Regions from separate parts of the Homo sapiens genome. Here regions 2, 3, 4, 5, 6 and 7 are each linked to region 1. The links are contacts of gene promoters, found by promoter capture Hi-C in human tissues and cell types (Jung and others, 2019). All regions are on one chromosome and are shown on one strand. Each heading gives the region's core, a stretch centred on a gene start or on the middle of the fragment in contact. The rest is flanking DNA. Distances are from core to core; before and after follow the strand shown. Region 1 holds the start of SH3RF1 (SH3 domain containing ring finger 1). Region 2 has its middle 15 kb from the start of CBR4-DT. Region 3 has its middle 34 kb from the start of CBR4-DT. Region 4 overlaps NEK1 (NIMA related kinase 1). Region 5 overlaps SH3RF1 (SH3 domain containing ring finger 1). Region 6 overlaps SH3RF1 (SH3 domain containing ring finger 1). Region 7 overlaps NEK1 (NIMA related kinase 1).

Evidence for each region. The method cuts DNA at HindIII sites, captures the fragments that hold promoters and counts their contacts. A contact is called where the count stands out against the background at its distance.
Region 2: a contact is called between a fragment that was not itself captured here and the fragment with the promoter of SH3RF1 in region 1, in 2 of the 25 tissues and cell types used here (dorsolateral prefrontal cortex and mesendoderm cells).
Region 3: a contact is called between a fragment that was not itself captured here and the fragment with the promoter of SH3RF1 in region 1, in 1 of the 25 tissues and cell types used here (lymphoblastoid cells).
Region 4: a contact is called between a fragment that was not itself captured here and the fragment with the promoter of SH3RF1 in region 1, in 1 of the 25 tissues and cell types used here (IMR-90 fibroblasts).
Region 5: a contact is called between a fragment that was not itself captured here and the fragment with the promoter of SH3RF1 in region 1, in 1 of the 25 tissues and cell types used here (dorsolateral prefrontal cortex).
Region 6: a fragment that was not itself captured here is called in contact with the fragment with the promoter of SH3RF1 in region 1 in 1 of the 25 tissues and cell types used here (dorsolateral prefrontal cortex).
Region 7: a fragment that was not itself captured here is called in contact with the fragment with the promoter of SH3RF1 in region 1 in 1 of the 25 tissues and cell types used here (mesendoderm cells).

The regions. Positions count from the first base shown.
Region 1 is chr4:169,269,597-169,272,266 of GRCh38, forward strand. It overlaps SH3RF1 (SH3 domain containing ring finger 1), which reads right to left and starts at 1,360. Exons shown (of 12, transcript NM_020870.4): 1 at 1,263-1,360. RefSeq lists silencers at 581-800, 1,041-1,800, 1,841-1,990. The HindIII fragment of the contact is 13,720 bases long and covers 1-2,670 here.
Region 2 is chr4:169,023,769-169,026,438 of GRCh38, forward strand. No RefSeq gene overlaps it. Among named protein-coding and RNA genes, the nearest start is that of CBR4-DT, 15 kb to the left of the region's middle. The HindIII fragment of the contact is 5,084 bases long and covers 1-2,670 here.
Region 3 is chr4:169,043,173-169,045,842 of GRCh38, forward strand. No RefSeq gene overlaps it. Among named protein-coding and RNA genes, the nearest start is that of CBR4-DT, 34 kb to the left of the region's middle. The HindIII fragment of the contact is 5,908 bases long and covers 1-2,670 here.
Region 4 is chr4:169,446,897-169,449,566 of GRCh38, forward strand. All of the region lies in intron 27 of NEK1 (NIMA related kinase 1), which reads right to left. Among named protein-coding and RNA genes, the nearest start is that of NEK1, 160 kb to the right of the region's middle. The HindIII fragment of the contact is 5,371 bases long and covers 1-2,670 here.
Region 5 is chr4:169,095,536-169,098,205 of GRCh38, forward strand. SH3RF1 (SH3 domain containing ring finger 1) reads right to left here. Exons shown (of 12, transcript NM_020870.4): 12 at 1-1,152. The coding sequence ends at 984. Among named protein-coding and RNA genes, the nearest start is that of CBR4-DT, 86 kb to the left of the region's middle. The HindIII fragment of the contact is 3,239 bases long and covers 1-2,670 here.
Region 6 is chr4:169,122,019-169,124,688 of GRCh38, forward strand. It overlaps SH3RF1 (SH3 domain containing ring finger 1), which reads right to left. Exons shown (of 12, transcript NM_020870.4): 7 at 82-248. Among named protein-coding and RNA genes, the nearest start is that of CBR4-DT, 110 kb to the left of the region's middle. The HindIII fragment of the contact is 4,240 bases long and covers 1-2,670 here.
Region 7 is chr4:169,417,880-169,420,549 of GRCh38, forward strand. The region is part of intron 31 of NEK1 (NIMA related kinase 1); the gene reads right to left. Among named protein-coding and RNA genes, the nearest start is that of SH3RF1, 150 kb to the left of the region's middle. The HindIII fragment of the contact is 7,668 bases long and covers 1-2,670 here.

The sequences.
Region 1 (2,670 bases), core at 110-2,609:
AAGGAACATAATTTCTTAAGCTCTGAAAGTGGTATCAGCTGCCTTAATAAAGTCTTCAACTCATAGGAGAAGCTGACAGAGGCCATTGAAAGTTTCCTCTACCTGAAATTTACTTTTATATCCAACTAAATTCCCTTTTTTAAGCCACTTTAGCGTTTAAGAAACCATGCCTCATGTAATCGCTCGTGGTAAATGATCCCAATATTAAATACATATGTTTCTTCGCTGTTATTAAAAATAGAACTGTTTAATTTTGCCCAACCAAAAAGAGCTGAAGGTTGACAATTCTAAAAGACACAGATTTGCTTGAAAGCAGCTAAAACAGAAAAGCGCCCTTCAGGGCAGTAGTTGATAAACTCTGAAACACATTTCTGAACGGCCTGTCCTAATCCCATTCAGAAAAGCTGGCAAAATTATCACCAAAAGAATTCGACAATGGAAGGTTGGACTGGAAACTGTGGGCATATGAAAATGAGGCCATTCAGGAAAAAGCAAGCCACTTACTGCGCCGCTCTCCCCCCACCGCCAAAATAAATGTAAAAGTGAATGCCCAGGAGAACGGGAGTAAAAAGATTTGGCTGGGAGCATTAACAGCTGTTCTTGACAAAGCCGGAGCGGGGGAGCCCCAGGGCTGCACCCCCGCTCCCACGGCGCCAAGCACAGGTACTCCCAAGCCCGCAGGGAGGCGCGGCGGCCGCTCGCCGCAGACACACCCCGGGGCCAGGTGTCGGCGGCACCCGGCAGGAGCCGGTCGCGGCCTGGGGCTGCGGCCCGGCCGGTCCCGGCGTGGGGATCTCACCCTACAGCCTCCCTCATCTCCGCCTCCCTTTAGCTCAGGCCGGGGACACAAATCCCTCTACACGACTGCGGGAAGTTTTCAAGGACTTAAAAATAAATGCGCAGGCTTAAGTTGCGAAACTCAGCCCCACAGAGTGCCACGGGGAAGCAGCTTTCTAGCCCAGCCAAGATAAGGCGACAGTCCCCAGAGAGACCGCGCCATCCGGGAAGCAGGGGGTGCTGGGCTGCGCCCGGGGAGACCGCGGCACGGAGCCCTGGCAGCTTCCTGCCCGGAGAAGGCAGAGGCCGCGGGCTGCTCCGCTTCCGCAGGTCCTGATTCCCGGCCCACGGGGACCCGAGGGCGAGGGGAGAGAGAGACCGACCCAGGGCGGGGATGGGGGAATGTCGAGACCACCGCCTTCTCCGCGGCTAGGGGTCCGCCGACGCTGGGTCCCCGTCGACCCCGCGCCGGCCGCGCGCCCTACCTCGCGCCTCGGCTCCTCCTCTTTGTTCGCGGCCCCGCAGCGGCTGCGGCGGCTGATGCAGATGCGGCCCCACCGCGCTCGCCGCTCGCAGTGTCTCTGACGCCGCGGCGGCACCGGGAGACTCCTCTCTGCTGCCCCCCTCACGCGCGCACACACACCACGCCGCCGCCGCCGCCTCCCACTTTCCCAGCCAAGGAGGGCGGAGGAAGAGGAGGAGGAGGCCGGGACGCAGCCGGCGCCCGGGGCGCAAGGGGGCGGCCCCGCGCCACAGCGCCTTCCCCGGGAGCGGGCGCGGCACCTCTCGGAGCCACCCGCCGCCGCGCCGGCCTCCCGCGCTGAGGTGACCTGCGCCCAGTACCCCGCCGGAGCCCGGGGGCGGGATTGGGGCGGCGGCCTGAGGGGGCGCTGCAAGAGCCTAGAGGATGGGGAGCGGGGCCCCCAGGGGACTACGAGGGGAAGGCTCGGGGACGGACGCCTTCTCCCTGAGGAGAACGCGCCTGAAAAATGGAGCCACCGGACGGGAAGGCGGCGGGAGTGGAGGCTGGGGGAAGCAGGAAGAAGCCCCGGGACAGGGTCCCGCCGCCTCCTCCTCCCCCCGGCGGGGCTGGGAGCCCTGGACGGACCCTTCCTCCCCAGGCTGGGCGAGTCGCGGCGCGGGAGGGGCTGGGTCCGCGGAGGCGGCGGGAGCAGCCCTGGCGGGAACCGATCCCGCTGCGCTTTGCGTCTGGTTGCCCACCCCGGACACTTACTTGGTAGAGTCGGAGCGAAGTGTTGCCCCTTAGGGCCGAGAGCGGCGTGGTGAATCGATGGGGACAGTGCCGCGGCCACCTGTCCGCACCCAGCCATCAGTCACCCCAGGACCCAAACCGGAGCAAGCCTGGAGGACCGCTGACCCCAAAGCCCAAGACTAGGAAAACGGTAGTACGGACTTCCAACCCAGGCTCGGGGGCTCTGTTATCCCTGCCCTAAGTGGGGAGAATTGAGTCTGACCTCAGGTGGGCTGGCACCGCAAAGCACGCTGAGAGGCGCCTCTTTTATCTGAGCCTGGGTGGCTGCCATCATCGCAGTAATCTTTGTTTTGGTTGCCCCAAGCACACACCTGTAAACCGAAGTGGAGTTTTGAAAAACATCTTGTCCATAGGTTTTGAGGTTTTTCAGTCTCGATTTAGTGGAGAAGCAAGTTAAAATTTTGTCACTGATCTAAAGTTGACATTACTATATTTGCATTTACCATCAATTTACAAAAAGTTATCCCAAATACCCCTCCTCAAAGGTGGGCAGAAACTAGGTGGTTATAAGAAGAAAGGGTTACAACAGATGATGCAAGAAATCTCTGCCCAGCCACCAACTAGGTTTATGATTTGACGAGGAGTCTCAGTTTATCCTCTAGTCTCCAGCTAGGGCCACA
Region 2 (2,670 bases), core at 81-2,580, 250 kb before region 1:
AGATATGAAAAATAAAATAGGTAGAAATGGAATAAAAATGCAAAGGTAGCACGTGACTCCCTGTGAAATGATGTTTTAAGAGAGTTAATTACAAAGTCCTATGAACCCAAAAGGAAAGTGCTCAGATCCGGAAGAATAGGAAATGAAGAACAGTATGCTTGTGTCTGTCCACAAGAAAAATATATGATGTCTAAATAACAACCTAAAATAATGAAAGATTTCTGTGATGCATGGCTGACACACAGTACATCTTCATCTCAGGGGAGAATTTCCAGAAGTTGATTTTCCAGATTTATAGAACACAACTCCTGAGTGGTCACTGCAGCAACTGTGTCATTTTTCTACTTTTTCCAGCTGAACCAGTGACAAGTTACATCACTAATCCTGAGCTTATTAAGAAGTGTCACCATCTCATGTTGGAAACCTCTCCGGAGGGTTTGGTACTGTTCTCTCAGGTAGATTATTTAAGATTAATGTCCTGATATGACAAACTGCATTTTTAATCTGTCATCAAAGCAGATTATCAGAACCAGAAATGACAAGATTTAACACACAGTTTTTCATGCCTAAAACTAACAGCAAAAACTACAATGCATTTCACTACATTCAAAGTAAACATGATATATTAATGAATGGTTTTTCCTCTGTCACCGAATAATTATAGATTCCTTCTTACTAAAAACAAATTATGTTTATTTCCCTTAAGAAGACTATGATTAATTATACACAATTACACTTGCCTTTAATTGAACAGATTTCTTCTTTACTCTGGATTAGTGGGTTATTGTATATTATTAAATAGCTTCAGAAAACCCAAAGAAGGAAACCTTTCTCTTCAGAACTAAAGCTGGGTAAGTAATGGTGGTCGTGGAACTATGGATAGGGGTCAAAAAAGTTTCATTTTCTTGTTAAAATGACCTATGGCAAACAGAGCTAACAGTGTCTTACAGTTCTGATTTATTGGAAGCACATTGATATGCCTGAATCTCAGAAATTGTATTGGAAAAGCCACAAATGAAAGCTGAGAGAGATTAACATGTGGTGGGCTAAGACTTTGTAAAGATAGATTCCTAAGGCAGGATTTCTCAAACTCAACAATATTGACATTTTAGGATGTATAATTTTTGTTGTTGTTGGGGGTTGTCTTGTGCACCACAGAATATTTGCAGCATCTATCCACTAGATGCCAGTAACGTACATCCTCACAGTTGTGACAAACAATGATATCTCCAGACATTGCCAAATGTCTCCTAGAAGGGGATGGGGGCGGAGTGGGGTAGAGGGGAGCAAAATTGCCCTGGTTGAGAACCACCACCCAAAATTGTAGCATTCCTGTCTGGCCCCAAATCTAGAGGACATTGTACCTGATTCTGCTAGATGCTGAAAGTGTATAATTCTGTTGTGATAACAGAATATCCAGAATAAAGACCATACTTCCCAGCCTCACCTCCCTTACAGCTAAGTAGGGCCATGCTTCTAAAGTCAGGTTAACAGGATTTAAGCAAAAATTGTGTGGGAACTTCCTGGTCATGCCCATAAAAGGAAAAAAATATTTCCTTCTATTCTACTTTCCACCTTCTTGCTGGCTAGTTATAGACATGATGGTGAGAGCCAGAGCAGCCATACTGGACACAGGGATTGGAGCTGTGTGTTGAGTATGGCAGAGTAACAACAGCATGGGTGGCTGGATGTTTGACATGGTAGAGGTCCCATATCAGCTTTGAGACCTGAGAGAGAATAAACTTCTCTCTTGCTTAAATCTCTGTTCTATCAGGTTCTTTGTTATAGCAACTGGCATTTTCGTGGTAACTAACACACATCCCAACTGCTGTTGCATGCGCTAAGCCAAAAAGGCAGCAATGAAAAGAGGAGGGATCACTTCTTGTCCTTTTGGGTAAGACCAAGTATAAAACAGGGAGCTTCCTTTGTCCCACTGGAATCTAAAGAAGCTCTAACTGGGTCTACATCCTTGATTGGAAAACAGTCATTTTTAATTGTAACATAAACAAACACCAGGGAAAGAAACAGTGAGCAGTGAGGGAGGACGGAGTTAGTGATTCAGTCAGACCAACTGAATTCACACAGGCGATCCAATAGGAAGACAGTGTGCACAGTTGGTCTTTTCTTAGCTTACACTGAGATTCACGTCTGGACAGGTGAGGCTGGCGAAGTCCCCTACACAGCTGTTTATTTGCATGAGCTGGTTTGCCACGCAAAGAGCATGCTAGGCCAGGCACGGTGGCTCATGCCTATAATCCCAGCACTTTGGGAGGCTGAGGCGGGCAGATTGCTTGAGCCCAGGAGTTCAAGACCAGCCAGGCCAACATAGGGAGATCCCGTCTCTACCAAAATTAGCTGGGTGTGGTGGCGCCTGTAGTACTAACTACCCAAGAGTCTGAGGTGGGAGGATTGCTTGAGCCCAGGAGATCAAGGCTGTGGTGAGCCAAGATTGCATCACTGCACTCCAGCCTGGGTGACAGAGCAAGACTATCTCAAAAAAAGAAAGAAAGAAAAATAAAAAGAAACGAAGGAAGGAGAGAGAGAGAGAGAGAAAGAAAGAAAGAAAGAGAGAAAGAAGGAAGGAAGGAGAGAGAGAGAGAAAGGAAGAAGAAAGAAAGAGAGAGAAGGAAGGAAGGAGAGAGAAAGAAAGAAAGAAAGGAGAAAGAAAGA
Region 3 (2,670 bases), core at 79-2,578, 230 kb before region 1:
TCCTCACCACCTCCATTGCCAATGTGTAATCAAGCCGTAATCATCTCTTCTTGATTACTGCCACAGCCTTCTAATGGGTCTCCTTGCTTCAACTCTTGCCCCTCTGCACTCCATTCTCCATAGTGTGATCTTTTAAAAGTGCAAAGCATATCCTGTCAGTACCTTTAACATTGCACTTACAGAAATAACTTCCAGATTCTTTACTATGGCCTACAAGGACCTAAGGGATATGGGTCCTGTCTGCTCCCCTTCTCTCACTTAGTACCATCTCCCCCACCCCACCCTCTGTCCCCACTTTTTTTTAATTTCTGTTCTGGACTCTACCAACCTTATTCTGGCTACAGGCTCTTTGCACTGGCTATTCCCTTAGTCTGAAGCACTTCTACCCCAGAACTTCCCATGGCTGGCTCCCTTCATCATCCAGGTCTCATCTCTGATGTTTCTTCTTTAGAGATGCCTTCCCTGACATTTTAACTAAAGCAAAACTATCTATTCCCCATCTCCCCCACATATCCCACACTAATTTCTTCACATTATGATCTGAAATTATTATATTAACATACTTGTCTGCATTTTTATCATGTTTTCCCCCCCAGAAGGTAAGCTTCATTAGGACAAGGATCTCAGGTGATTAATCTTGTTCACTATTGTGTCCTTAGCACCTAGCACATAGCAAGTGCGCAATGAATGGATATTAACTCTACTAATGAAAGAGTAGAGGAGGCCAGGCATGGTGGCTCATGCCTGTAATCCCAGCACTTTGGGAGGCTGAGGCGGGCGGATCACCTGAGGTTGGGAGTTCGAGACCAGCCTGACCAACATGGAGAAACCCCATCTCTACTAAAAATACAAAATTAGCCAGGCGTGGTGGTGCATGCCTGTAATCCCAGCTACTCAGGAGGCTGAGGCAAGAAAATCACTTGAACCCGGGAGGCAGAGGTTGAAGTGAGCCGAGATGGTGCCATTGCACTCCAGCCTGGGCAACAAGAGTGAAACTCCATCTCAAAAAAAAAGAGTAAAGGAAAAACAATCTAGCCAAGATTTTTAATTATAGAAATCTGTTAATATAAAATTTATAATATCAACTTTATATTTTCTATAAAATGCTACACAGAGGCCAAGAGTGGTGGTTCATGCCTATAATCCCAATACTTGGGGATGTTGAGCTGGAGGACTGCTTGAGCCCAGGAGCTCAAGATCAGCCTGGGCAACATAGCAAGGCTCCATCTCTACAGAAAAAAAAAAAAATTATAAATTAGCTGGGCATAGTGGGGCCTGCCTTTAGTCCCAGCTACTCAGGATGCTGAGGTAGGAGGATCATTTCAGCCCAGGAGTTTGAGACTGTGCTGAGCCATGATTGTGTCACTGTACTCCATCCTGGGTGACAGAGCAAGACCCTGTCTCAAAAAAAAAAAAAAAAAAAAAGCTACCCATTAGGTCCAAGTTGTACTCAAAGTGATTAGGTTATGAAATTGAGGCTTGCCATGAAGGTGGTTATATTAAACAAGTAACTTGTATTACCTTGATAAGATTATTACACTTTCTTCTGCTTATTAATGTTGAAACATTTATAAGTTAGGAATGCTTTGGTTATAAATAGCAACATATCTGACTATAATTTACATCTGTAGAGCTGTTCTGGCTCCTTATACTATGTAACAAAACACTCACAAATTTGTGGCTTAAAACAATATTCATTTTGCTTCCAAATCTGCAATTTGGGCAGGGCTCAGCAGGGGAAGCTCATCTGCGCTCCACTTGGCTTCAGCTGGGAGTGGGCCGCAATCACCTGAAGGCTATTCACCTGCTTACTTGGTGCCTGAGTAGATTCAAATGTCTAGGGGCTGGAACAGCTGGGGCCCCTTGGGCATGTATCCCTTTGTGCTTCCTCCATGTGATCACTCCAGCATGTTGCTCTCTTCCATTTGTTAGAAGCAACAAGCTCAAGCTGATCCATAATCAAGGGAAAAAGAATTAGACTTTTCCTTTTGATGGGAAGAGAGTCATCAAATAACTTGTGAATCTGTTTTTCTTGCATAAGAAAAAGTACAAAGAGCAATATCCCAAGGCTATTGCAATGGCTCAACAATGTTATTAAGAAACCAGACAGTACTGGGCATGGTGGCTCACGCTTGTAATTCCAACAATTTGGGAGGCCAAGGTAGGAGGATTACTTGAGGTGAGGAGTTCGAGACCAGCCTGGGCAACATAGGGAGACCTCCGTCTCTACTAAACTTTGTTTTTTTAATTAGCTGGGTGTGGTAGTGCATGTCTGTATTCCCAGCTACTTGGGAGGCTGAGGTGGGAGGATCACTTGAGCCAAGGAGGTTGAGGCTGCAGTGAGCTATGATCACATCCCTACATTTTAGCCTGGGTGACAGAGCAAGACCCTGTCTCTAAAAAAACCAAACCAAACAAAAAACAGCCCAGTCTCATGCAGTGGCTCACACTTGTAATCCTAGCAGTTTTGAGAGGCTGAAGCCTGAGGCCAGGAGTTTGAGACCAGCTTGGGCAACACAGTGAGACCACTGCCTCAAAAAAAACAAAACAAACAAACAAAAAAACCAAAAAAACCCCAAGCTCTTTTGACCATTTTTCTCAGCATCTTTAGGGTCTTGGCTTATCATGTTATGTTGATATAATGGAATGGCTTCTGCATCTCCAGTCATC
Region 4 (2,670 bases), core at 121-2,620, 180 kb after region 1:
AGGAGACAAAAAACAAAGGAAAAAGAATAAGGAATACCTACAAGATCTAAAAAACAGACTCAGAAGGGCAAATCTAAGAGTGATTCGTTGTAACGAGGAAGTAGAGAGACCGGGGTACAAAGTTTATTCAAAGGGATAATGTCAGAGAACTTCCTGAACCTAGAAAAAGATACCAATATTCAACTACAAGAAGGTTATAGAACACCAAGCAGATGTAATCCAAGGAAGACTACCTCAAGACATTTACTAATCAAACTCCAAAAGGTCAAAGACAAACAAAGGAGAAAAGCAGCAGCAGACTTTGTGTCTGGCAGCAGACTTTTCAGCAAAAATCTTACTGGCCAGGAGAGAGTGACAGGACATATTTAAAGTACTGAAGGAAAAAAACTTTTATCCTAAAATAGTATATCCAGAGAAAATATCCTTCAAACATAATGAAGAAATAAAGACTACCAGACAAACAAAAGCTGAGGGATTTCATCAACACAAGACCTGTCCCATAAGAAATGCTAAAAGGAGTTCTTTAATATGAAAGAATAGGACAATAATGAGTAATAAGAAATCATCTGAAGGTGTAAAATTCACCAGTAATAGTAAGTATACAGAAAAACACAGAATATTAGAACACTGTAATTGTGGTGTGTAAGCTACTCATATCTTGAGTAGAAAGACTAAAAGATGAACTGATTGAAAATAAAAATTATTCACGCCTGTAATCCCAGCATTTTGGGAGGTGAAGGCGGGTGGATCACTTGAGGTGAGAAGTTTGAGACCAGCCTGGCCAACATGCTAAAATCCCATCTCTATTAAAAATACAAAAAAATTAGCCAGGTGTGGTGGCACACACCTGTGATCCAGACTAGTCGGGAGGCTGAGGCAGGAGAATCACTTGAACCCGGGAGGTGGAGGCTGCAGTGAGCCGAGATCGTGCCACTGCACTCCAGCCCGGGCAACGGAGTGAGACTCTGTCTCAAAAAATAAAATGAAATAAAATAAATAAACATTATGTGAGGTGTGATGGCTTATGCCTGTAATCCTAGAACTTTGGAAGGCTGAGGTGGGAGGATTGCTGGAACCCAGGAATTTGAAACCAGCCTGGGCAACATGCAACATGAAACCAGCCTGGGCAACAGGCAAAACCCTTTCTCTACAAAAAAAAAATACAAAAAAATTTAGCCATGTGTGGTGGCTACAAGCAGTGGGACATGCTTGTAGTCCCAGCTGCTTGGGAGGCTGATGTGAGATCACCTGAGCCAGAAGGTGGAAGTTGTAGTAAGCTGAGATTGTGCCACTGCCCTCCAGCCTGGGTGACAGAGTGAGTCCCTGTCTCAAGAAAAAAAAAATTACAACTTTTTGAGAGACAATACAGTAAGATACAAATAGAAACAAAAAGTTGAAAAGTGAGGGACAAAGTTAGAGTCTTTATTAGTTTTTTATTTGCTTGTTTGGTATCTGTTTTTGCAATCACTGTTGTCATCAGTTTAAAATAGTGGGTTATAAGATAGTATTTATACCTCATAGTACCCTCAAAAATAAAAAATCATACAACAGATACGCAAAAAAATAAAAAGCAAGAAATTAAAACATACCACTAAAGAAATCACCTTCTCTAAAATGAAGATATGAAGGAAGGAAGGAAGAGAAGTCCACAAAACAACCAGAAAACAAATAACAAAATGGCAGAATTAAGTCTTTACTTGTAATAATCCCATTGAATGTAAATGGAATAAACTCTCCAATCAAAAGACAGAGAGTGGCTGAATAGATTAAAAAAGAAGACTCAACAGGAGTTCCAAGATGGCGGAATAGGAACAGCTCCAGTCTACAGCTTCCAGCGTGCTTGATGGAGAAGATGGGTGATTTCTGCATTTCCAACTGAGGTACCTGGTTCATCTCAATGGGACTGGTTGGACAGTGGGTGCAGCCCACGGAGGGTGAGCCGAAGCAGGGTGGGGCATCACCTCACCTGGGAAGCGCAATGAGTCGGGGGATTTCCCTTTCCTAGCCAAGGGAAGCCGTGACAGACTACCTGGAAACACGGGACACTCCCCACCCAAATACTGTGCTTTTCCCAAGGTCTTAGCAACCGGCAGACTAGGTGATTCTCTCCTGTGCCTGGCTCGGCAGGTCCCACGCCCACAGAGCCTTGCTCACTGCTAGCCCAGCAGTCTGAGATGGATCTGCCAGGCAGCAGCCTGACTCGGGGAGGGGCATCCGCCATTGCTGAGGCTTGAGTAGGTAAACAAAGCTGCCCAGAAGTTCAAAATGGGCGGAGCCCACCGCAGCTCAACAAGGCCTACCGCCTCAGTAGTCTCCACCTCTGTGGGCAGGGCATAGCTGAACAAAAGGCAGCAGACAATTTCTGCAGACTTAAACGACCCTGTCTAACAGCTCTGAAGAGAGCAGTGGTTCTCCCAGCATGGTGCTTGAGCTCTGAGAAAAGATAGACTGCCTCCTCAACTGGGTCCCTGACCCCCACGCAGCCTAACTGGGAGACATCTCCCAGTAGGGGCTGACTGACACCTCATATAGGTGGCTGCCACTCTGGGACAAAGCTTCCAGAGGAAGGATCAGGCAGCAATATTTGCTGTTCTTCAATATTTGCTGTTCTGCAGCCTCCACTGGTGGTACCCAGGCAAACAGGGTCTGGAGTGGAACTCCAGCAAACTC
Region 5 (2,670 bases), core at 110-2,609, 170 kb before region 1:
TTGACTTAACACGAGTGCATCACTTACCACCACTATCTCACAAATGTTTTACTTGTGTCCTGGGCATGCAGGTCAGTTGGGGTAAAATGTGAAATGACGCTTCATAGCCATTCTCAGACAGTGACTACAACTTCAATTTCCCCTACTTTCCAACCAAACAATTGAGCTGCTTCTGCTATAAAACTAAATATATTTCTAAATACATTTTGTTCAAGGGTTGTGCTGTATTCTTTCTCATTGTTTCAGTCACTTCATTCTAGGAAAATTAAAAACCCACACAATTAAATTGAGGACTAGGTCTTCAGGGTGATTCCTACCAAACTAGAAAGAGAGGGAATCACTAACTTCTCTTCTCTCAAGTTTCTGTCTCTCTACCCCAGGCCCTAATTGATACTGATTCATTTGTATGTTTGGTTTCCCAAAGAAGAAAACCAAATTAGAGAACTGGGATTTCTATCTTAAAGAAGCAAAACATAACCCCAAAATATAATGGTAGCAGGGAGGAGGAGAGGGGAAAATGCATTCACTCTATGTCAAAACGAATCTCTTGCTCTCAACAGGAGATAATCCAGCTTCTCCTTACCTATCATTTCATAAATTAATAATTTCTTAAAATCATAATCCAAAGAACGTATCTATTATACGAAAAGTTCAAGTTTAAAAAAGCAAATAAATTAGTTAAGCCTTGTAAACAATTGTCCATTTTAGTCATATATCTTAAAAAAAAAAAAAAGTTTCTCTGTGTAGTAAATCAGACAGTACAAGGCACACCTTATACATCCGAATCCAGACTAACAAAACCCACACAAACATCTTCTTCATTCTGCTCGCTGGGGTAACTGTGCTGGGGCATCAGAGTCACATACCAATCCTTTGCTCATCTCCTGACCATCTGGAAGTCCACAAATGTGCTCTTTCTGTTAAACTGCTTTGTGCTACTTTGTTGTGTGAAGTGATTTTAAGCTTCTTCAGTGTCAGTCTCCTCATATGTTTTCCACAAAGCTTCCTGGGAAAAGGCCAGTTTTCCCATTACGTTGTAATGTGCCTTTGAACCAGCCATCCTCTCGTTTTTTATGAACAAACACAATATCTCCTTCTTTAAGTTCAAGTTCTGCCTCACTCTGAGGAGGATAGGAAACCACCACCCTGTGCCTAGAAAAGAAAGAGATTTTGGTTAAGGCGATTCAAAGCAGTGATTTTAAAAAATGGTGTACTGTTAGTCTGCACGAACCTTCAACATAAATAGGAAATAACATTAATTCATTTATGATTGTAAAACAACTCAAAATACTGCTATTTTCTGTTTAGTAGAGACTTAGTACTAACAAAGACTGGATTTGGATATGTGTGTCAACCCACTACTGATGGCCCAGACTGGTTCATCTGAGTGACCTTAACAAGGACAGCCATCCTTGTTCCCTACCAGTGTTTGTATCTTGGCCATAAAGGAGAGTTTCATTTCATTTCCCGAGAGGGGTATCATTTCTATCCCTCCCTCTTCTCCAAGGAAACAGGAGTGAATTTATTTGATTGGTGAGACTGGGAGAAGTAGCTGAGCAGGGGGGGTTCAGTCCTCTCTGAACCGCCTGCCCACAGGCTAAGGAGGCTCTGCTCCACCTCTATGTTGTAAGCACACAGAGGTCAGGAAGGTGAGTCTGGAAGTCTGTCTCTGTGTCCCTACGTCCCTTACACTGGTGTTTGACATGGGCGAGGCAGCAATTCTGAGGAAGGTAATCTGCCCCACATACCCAGATTATCCCTTGGGAAGGTAGTCCCAAGGTCCAGACATGGAGGGGAGGGCTATGGCCACAAGTTCAATCCAACATTACCAGTAACGAGGTTGACATTCTCATCTCTATTATTCTGACATTTGGGTCTGTTTCTCCTTGGCTCAGAATTTGGAGTTAGTGGGAAAGGTGTCATTATCGCTTAAAAATGGCAGAAGCTTAGTTGGTTTAATATTATCTGTGCCCCTGCCTCCATGCTCCTTAGCCTTCCTGTGCAGAATTACAGCTTGTAGGAAACGAGAGGGAGGTGACTTGTTTTACACTCTATATCCTTTTATCTTTCTCTATTTTTCCAGCATTATTTGCATTACTCCTCTTCTCAACAAAAGGGGGGAAAAGAATGGTGGTGTATGGTAGCCAACCTCCAAGATGGCCCTAGTGATCCTTGCTTCCTGGTATTCACACTCTTGTGTAGTCTCCTCCTATGATGCACAGGATGACCTGTGTGGCCAATAAAATGTTGCAGAAATGACAGTGGGTGATTTCTGAGGCTAGATCATAAAAGGCATTATGGCTTCCACTTTACTTTCTCTTGGATCGGTCACTCAGGAAAACTGGCTGCCATGTTGTGAGGACACTCAACATCTCTATGGAGAGGAAACACATGGTAAGGCACTGAGGCCTCTTTCCAAAAGCCTAAACTAACCAGAAAAAGTGATGTGAATAAGCCATCTTAGAAGGGGATCCTCCAGCCCCAGTTGAGCATCAGCTCAGGCTGATGTCTTGACTACAATCTCAAGAAATACTCTAAGCCAGAACCAACCAGATGAGCTGTTCCATAATTATGTGACCCACAGAAAGTGTGAAATAATACATGCTTATTATTGTTTTAAGCCACTGACTTTTGGGCGTAACTGGTTACATGGCAACAGATATCTAATAA
Region 6 (2,670 bases), core at 112-2,611, 150 kb before region 1:
AGAAAGGTGTTTCTTGACCTCTGAGGTTTGGACTTCGTTTAAATGAACACATAAGCAGTAACAGACGACACGCTCACTTACACACTGGGGCGAGTCTGCGGCCGTAAATGTGCAATCTGGTCAGTGGATCCTGCCATGGGCCTCGGTCCCATTCCAGCAGCAGCAGCAGCGGCGGTGGCGCCTGGTGGTGTGGAGGCAAGGACAGTGGCAGCCAGGAGAGGGGGTGGTGGAAGAGGAGGATTCAAAGTCTAGTATAGGAAAAACATAAAGAGAAAGGGAAAAAAGGGAACAAAATACTGATTTACATCTTCCTATGGAAGGTGGGAGAGAAAAAGAATTATAAATCCATAGAACAAGACTTTAATGGAATCCACACAGGGCAGAATCAGCAGGCTAACTGATATGAAAGCCTGCTTCTACAAATTCATCTCTTGTTCTCCTTTAAAATATTAAAGCCAAAGCAACCTTTTCAGCAAGCAGGTAAGTAATCACCCTTGGGAGGAGGGAAAGAAAAAAAATGAAACAATTGCATGTAATCTTAAGATTAATAGCATTTTAAAGTATGGACTTGGACAAGGATCCAAATGCCTTTCGAGGCGGGTAGCCATGTCATGCTGCTTGCTAGGAATTAATTTGTGATTGTTTCTGTAATCTGAAACTTAAACACAACACACAATGTAGCTGTACTATATCTCAAATCATTCCTTCAGAAGAAAATTTCCTTTGATGCCTGGTCTACAAAAAGCCCAAACAATAGTAAGCCACAGTCACTGGACCATTGTTGCTACTTTTGCTTATTCTTTTCTTAACTTTGCCAGCTTTTGAAATTTGGTACTATCGAGGCTGGTAATCTTTAACAAGTACACCAGTGAAAAGCTGCTGGTTCCTTTATGGGCACAGCCTAATGGGGTTCTGCCTACAGGATTCCATGCCTTTTGAAAATCAATGGAGCAATTGTTACCTTCTGATCTATAAACCCAGATAATTCTTTAGGGTCTGTATACTGAAACTCTTGGGAAAACAGGCACACAAAGACTGCCTGAACCGCTACCTCGTCCTCTCCAGATCTTTGAACAACTAGATGTAAAAACTAAGTCAAAGGAGAAATAAGAAGACTAAAGAATTTACCTAGTTAAGTGTAAATGGCTTCTATATGTCAGCATATTAACAAAATAAAGATCCAATGATTTCTAAACAGAGCTTATACCAGTCATCTTATTTCTGTTTTTTGGAATAAAAATTTGAATTTCATCACCATTCACTATAATACATCTGGCTGTTAATATAGACATACATAGTTCCAGAAACATAACGAACTGAGTGGAAAAAAATTTCAAATTTCTAGACGCACGCTGTAACTATTCGATGCATTATGTTTAATTTTTTGCTAAAGCGACTTTCAATAAAGATTTTTCCCACACTGTAGCTAAAGTGGTTGCAGAACATTTAGTGCAGAAACAAATGAGGTGCAGAGCCACTTACAAAGTGCAAACCAGGAGAAGGCAGAGGTTAGCTCAAAAAGTTGGAACGTCAGGAAAATGTGGCTCACATTCTCAATTCAAAATATGGCACCATTAAGATTTGTTATAGCTCGCAGGCGCAGTGGCTCACGCCTGTAATCCCAGCACTTTGGGAGGCTGAGGCGGGCGGATCACGAGGTCAGGAGATCGAGACCATTTTGGCTAACACGGTGAAACCCCATCTCTACTAAAAATACAAAAAAATTAGCCGGGTGTGATGGCGGGTGCCAGTAGTCCCAGCTACTCGGGAGGCTGAGGCAGGAGAATGGCGTGAACCCGGGAGGCGGAGCTTGCAGTGAGCCAAGATTGCGCCACTGCACTCCAACCTGGGTGACAGAGCAAGACTCCGTCTCAAAAAAAAAAAAAATTGTTATAGCTCTGGAATTTGCATGTACTGAGGCTTAGAGCCTCCAAAACCTTTAACCAGGAGAAGGGCAAGCATTTATCCTGTTAGGCTTCTTTCCAGTGACAAAGCAGAGATAAAGATAATCCTGGTCACAGCAAATGTGACCTGGACAGTTCATGGATAATAATGCATCAGCAGTTTGACAGGTGAGATAATCGGTCTACACTGTATATAGAGTAATATATGGAGAAACTGTAAAATTACCACTTCACTGATTTCCATTTAAATCTTTCTAAGCTCAATCTCAAAACAGTGTGGCTGTGGAAAGGCAGAAAACTAATGGCATGTGCTCAAACAGAAATTAAAATCATCTATTATAGCTTAACTTTATTAAAACAGAGGCTGTACTAATTTGACCTAAAAAGAAAAGGACAAAAATCATCTATGCACCTGATAAAAACATGTCATCTTTTGTAATATAAATAAAATTTTGTAATAAAATATAAAATCACTTCTTGTCACAAAATACACTAAGTTAAATGTTTCATGTACATTACTTTTGCAAACAGTGAGAGTTAGACATTAAGATATGGCATCAAAGAGGATATTCTGAAAGATCCCAAAGGTTCTTCCTGACAGAAAAGAGTTCTCTCTCACTTTCTGTGGCTGAAACATAAATGGTTTAATACAATTGGGCAGATCTTTTCCCAGTGCATGCATGTTTGCATGTGTAAATTTGTGTGTATGTGAGCAAACAGATGAAGATCAAGAAACTCTGATTAAAATCAGATTCCTAGATGTTGC
Region 7 (2,670 bases), core at 68-2,567, 150 kb after region 1:
GTGCAGCCTTGCTAGACTGATGAGACAAAGATCAAAGTCCAGGGAGGTAGAACTAGAAAAGAGAGATTCATTAAAATAAAACAAAAAAAACTTCAAAACTTTGCAAGGTAGTTTTCTTGAGTCTTTGATGAGCACAGGCCATGAATATGCAGAATGAAACTTCACAAAGCTAGGCCAAAACAGCTGGGGAGTTGTAAGCTGAACAATGCTCAGAGCTCATGCAGGTAGGAGATGATCAAACTGACCGGGAGGGAGGTGTTTCCTCAAGATCACCTGTGATGTACAGTGGAGGCCCTAGAGGGTCATGCCTTGGAAATAAGTTAACTAGCTCTAGAATGAAGACAACTTTACACTTGTCCTAGCAAAGCTTAAAAACAAAGTTTAAAAGTGTAAAATAGATCCACAAGTAACTTGACTAACTTAAACCCAATACTCTTTACAGGAAGATAGTAATAACAAAAAAATCAGAGACCTAGGAATATAATATTCACAAGGTCCACCTTCAAATAAAGAATTATAAAACACACCCAGAAGTAGGACAATATGATCCATAACCAGTAGAAAAATAAGTCAACAGAAGAAGATACAGAGATGATGGAACTCGCACATAAGGATATTAAGCCAGCTATTTTAATGGAGTATTAAAGGATAAACACGAACATAATGTGGAGAGAAATGAAAGACACAAAAACAACTTCTAAAGATAAAACACACAATATCGAAATAAAAGGTTCACTGAGTGGGATTAATAGTATATTATTGCAGAAAAAAGATAAGTAAACATGAATACATACTAATAGAATTTATCCACAAGGAAGTACAGAGAGAAAAAAAGACTGAAAACAAAATGAACATAATCTTAGTGACCCGTGGAATGGTATCAAAGAGTCTAACATATGTAACTGGAGTCACAGAAAAGGTAGTAGAGAGAGAGAAAAAATATTTAATTGAAATAATAGCCAAAACTTTTCCAAATTTAATGAAAAGTATAAACCTAAGGGTCCAAGAAGATCAATGAACCCCAAAACAGGATAAACACACACACATTACAGACCCCATATACAGCATTGGTCCCATAAGATTATAATAAAGCTGAAAAATTCCTCTCACCACCTAATGGCATTGTAGTGTCATAGTTTAATGAATTACTCATGTTTGTGGTGATGCTGATATAAACAAACCTACCACACTGCTAGTCCTATAAAACCTTACTCCAAAAACCTTACTCCCCAAAACCCTTACCAAAGCATTTAATAATCAAAATGCTAGAAACCAGTGATAAAAAGGAAACTGTAAAAGAAGCCAGAGAGAAAGATACTCTATATACATGAAGATAAGAAAGCTCACATATTTCTTAGAAACAATGCAACCCAGAAGACAATATAATTCTATATCTAGTGAAAATATCCACTCAAAATGAAGGTGAAATGAAAACACTTTCATACAAACAAAATCTGAAAAAAAAAATCATCATCAACAGGGCTGTGTAAGAAGTGTTAATGGAAGTTCTTAAAGTGGAAGAAAAAGAATACCAGATAGAAACTTGAATTCTGCACAAAGGAACAAAAAATGTCAGAAATAGTAAACATGTAAATATAAAATACTTTCCAATTTCTGACTTCTGTAAAAGATAAATGAATGTTTAAGCAAAAATAATAAAAATGTATTGTGGAATTTATAACGTGGTAGAAAAAATACCCGACAACAATACCACGAAGGACAGGCAGGACGGGAATGGAAGTACAGTCATGCTTTGCTTAACAAAGATACGTTACGAGAAAAGTGTTGTTAGGCAATTTTGTCATTGTGTGAACATCATAGAGTGTAATTACACAAACCTAGATGGTATTAGCCTACTACATATCTAGGATATGTGGTACAGCCTATTGTTCCTAGGCTACAAAACCTGTATAGCATGTTACTACACTCAATATTATAGAAGATTGTAATACAATGGTAAATATTTGTCTATCTAAACACTAAGGTATAGTCAAAATACCATATAAAAGATTAAAAATGGTGCACCTGTATAGGTACTTACCATGAATGGAGCTTGTGGAACTGGAAGTTGCCCTGGGTAAGCCAGTGAGTGAGTGGTGAGTGAAATGTGAAGGCCTGGGACATTAGCGTACACTACTGTGGACTTTATAAACATTGTATACATAGACTACACTAAATGTATTTAAAAATTTTCTGTCTTCAATAAATTAACCTTATCTTACTGTAACCTTTTCACTTTATAAACTTGAAGACACAAACACACACGTCAGCCTATGCCTACAGAGGGTCAGGATCATCAACATCACTGTCTTCCACCTCCAATCTAGAAAGTCTTCAAGGGCAATAACACGAATGAAGCTGTCATCTCCTGTGATAACTATACACTATACACTGAAATACCTCCTGAAGGACCTGCCTGAGGCCGTTTTACAGTTCACTTTCTTTTAATACGTAGAACACTCCAAAATAATGATAAAAAGTAAAGTATTAAAAATACACAAACCAGGCATGCAGTCAATTATTATTGTTGTCAAGCATTAGGTACTGTACATAATTGTATGTCCTAAACTTTTATAGGACTAGCAGTGTGGTAGGTTTGTTTACATCAGCATCACCACAAACATGTGAGTAATGCACTACACTGTGACACTACGATGTCATTAGGTGGTG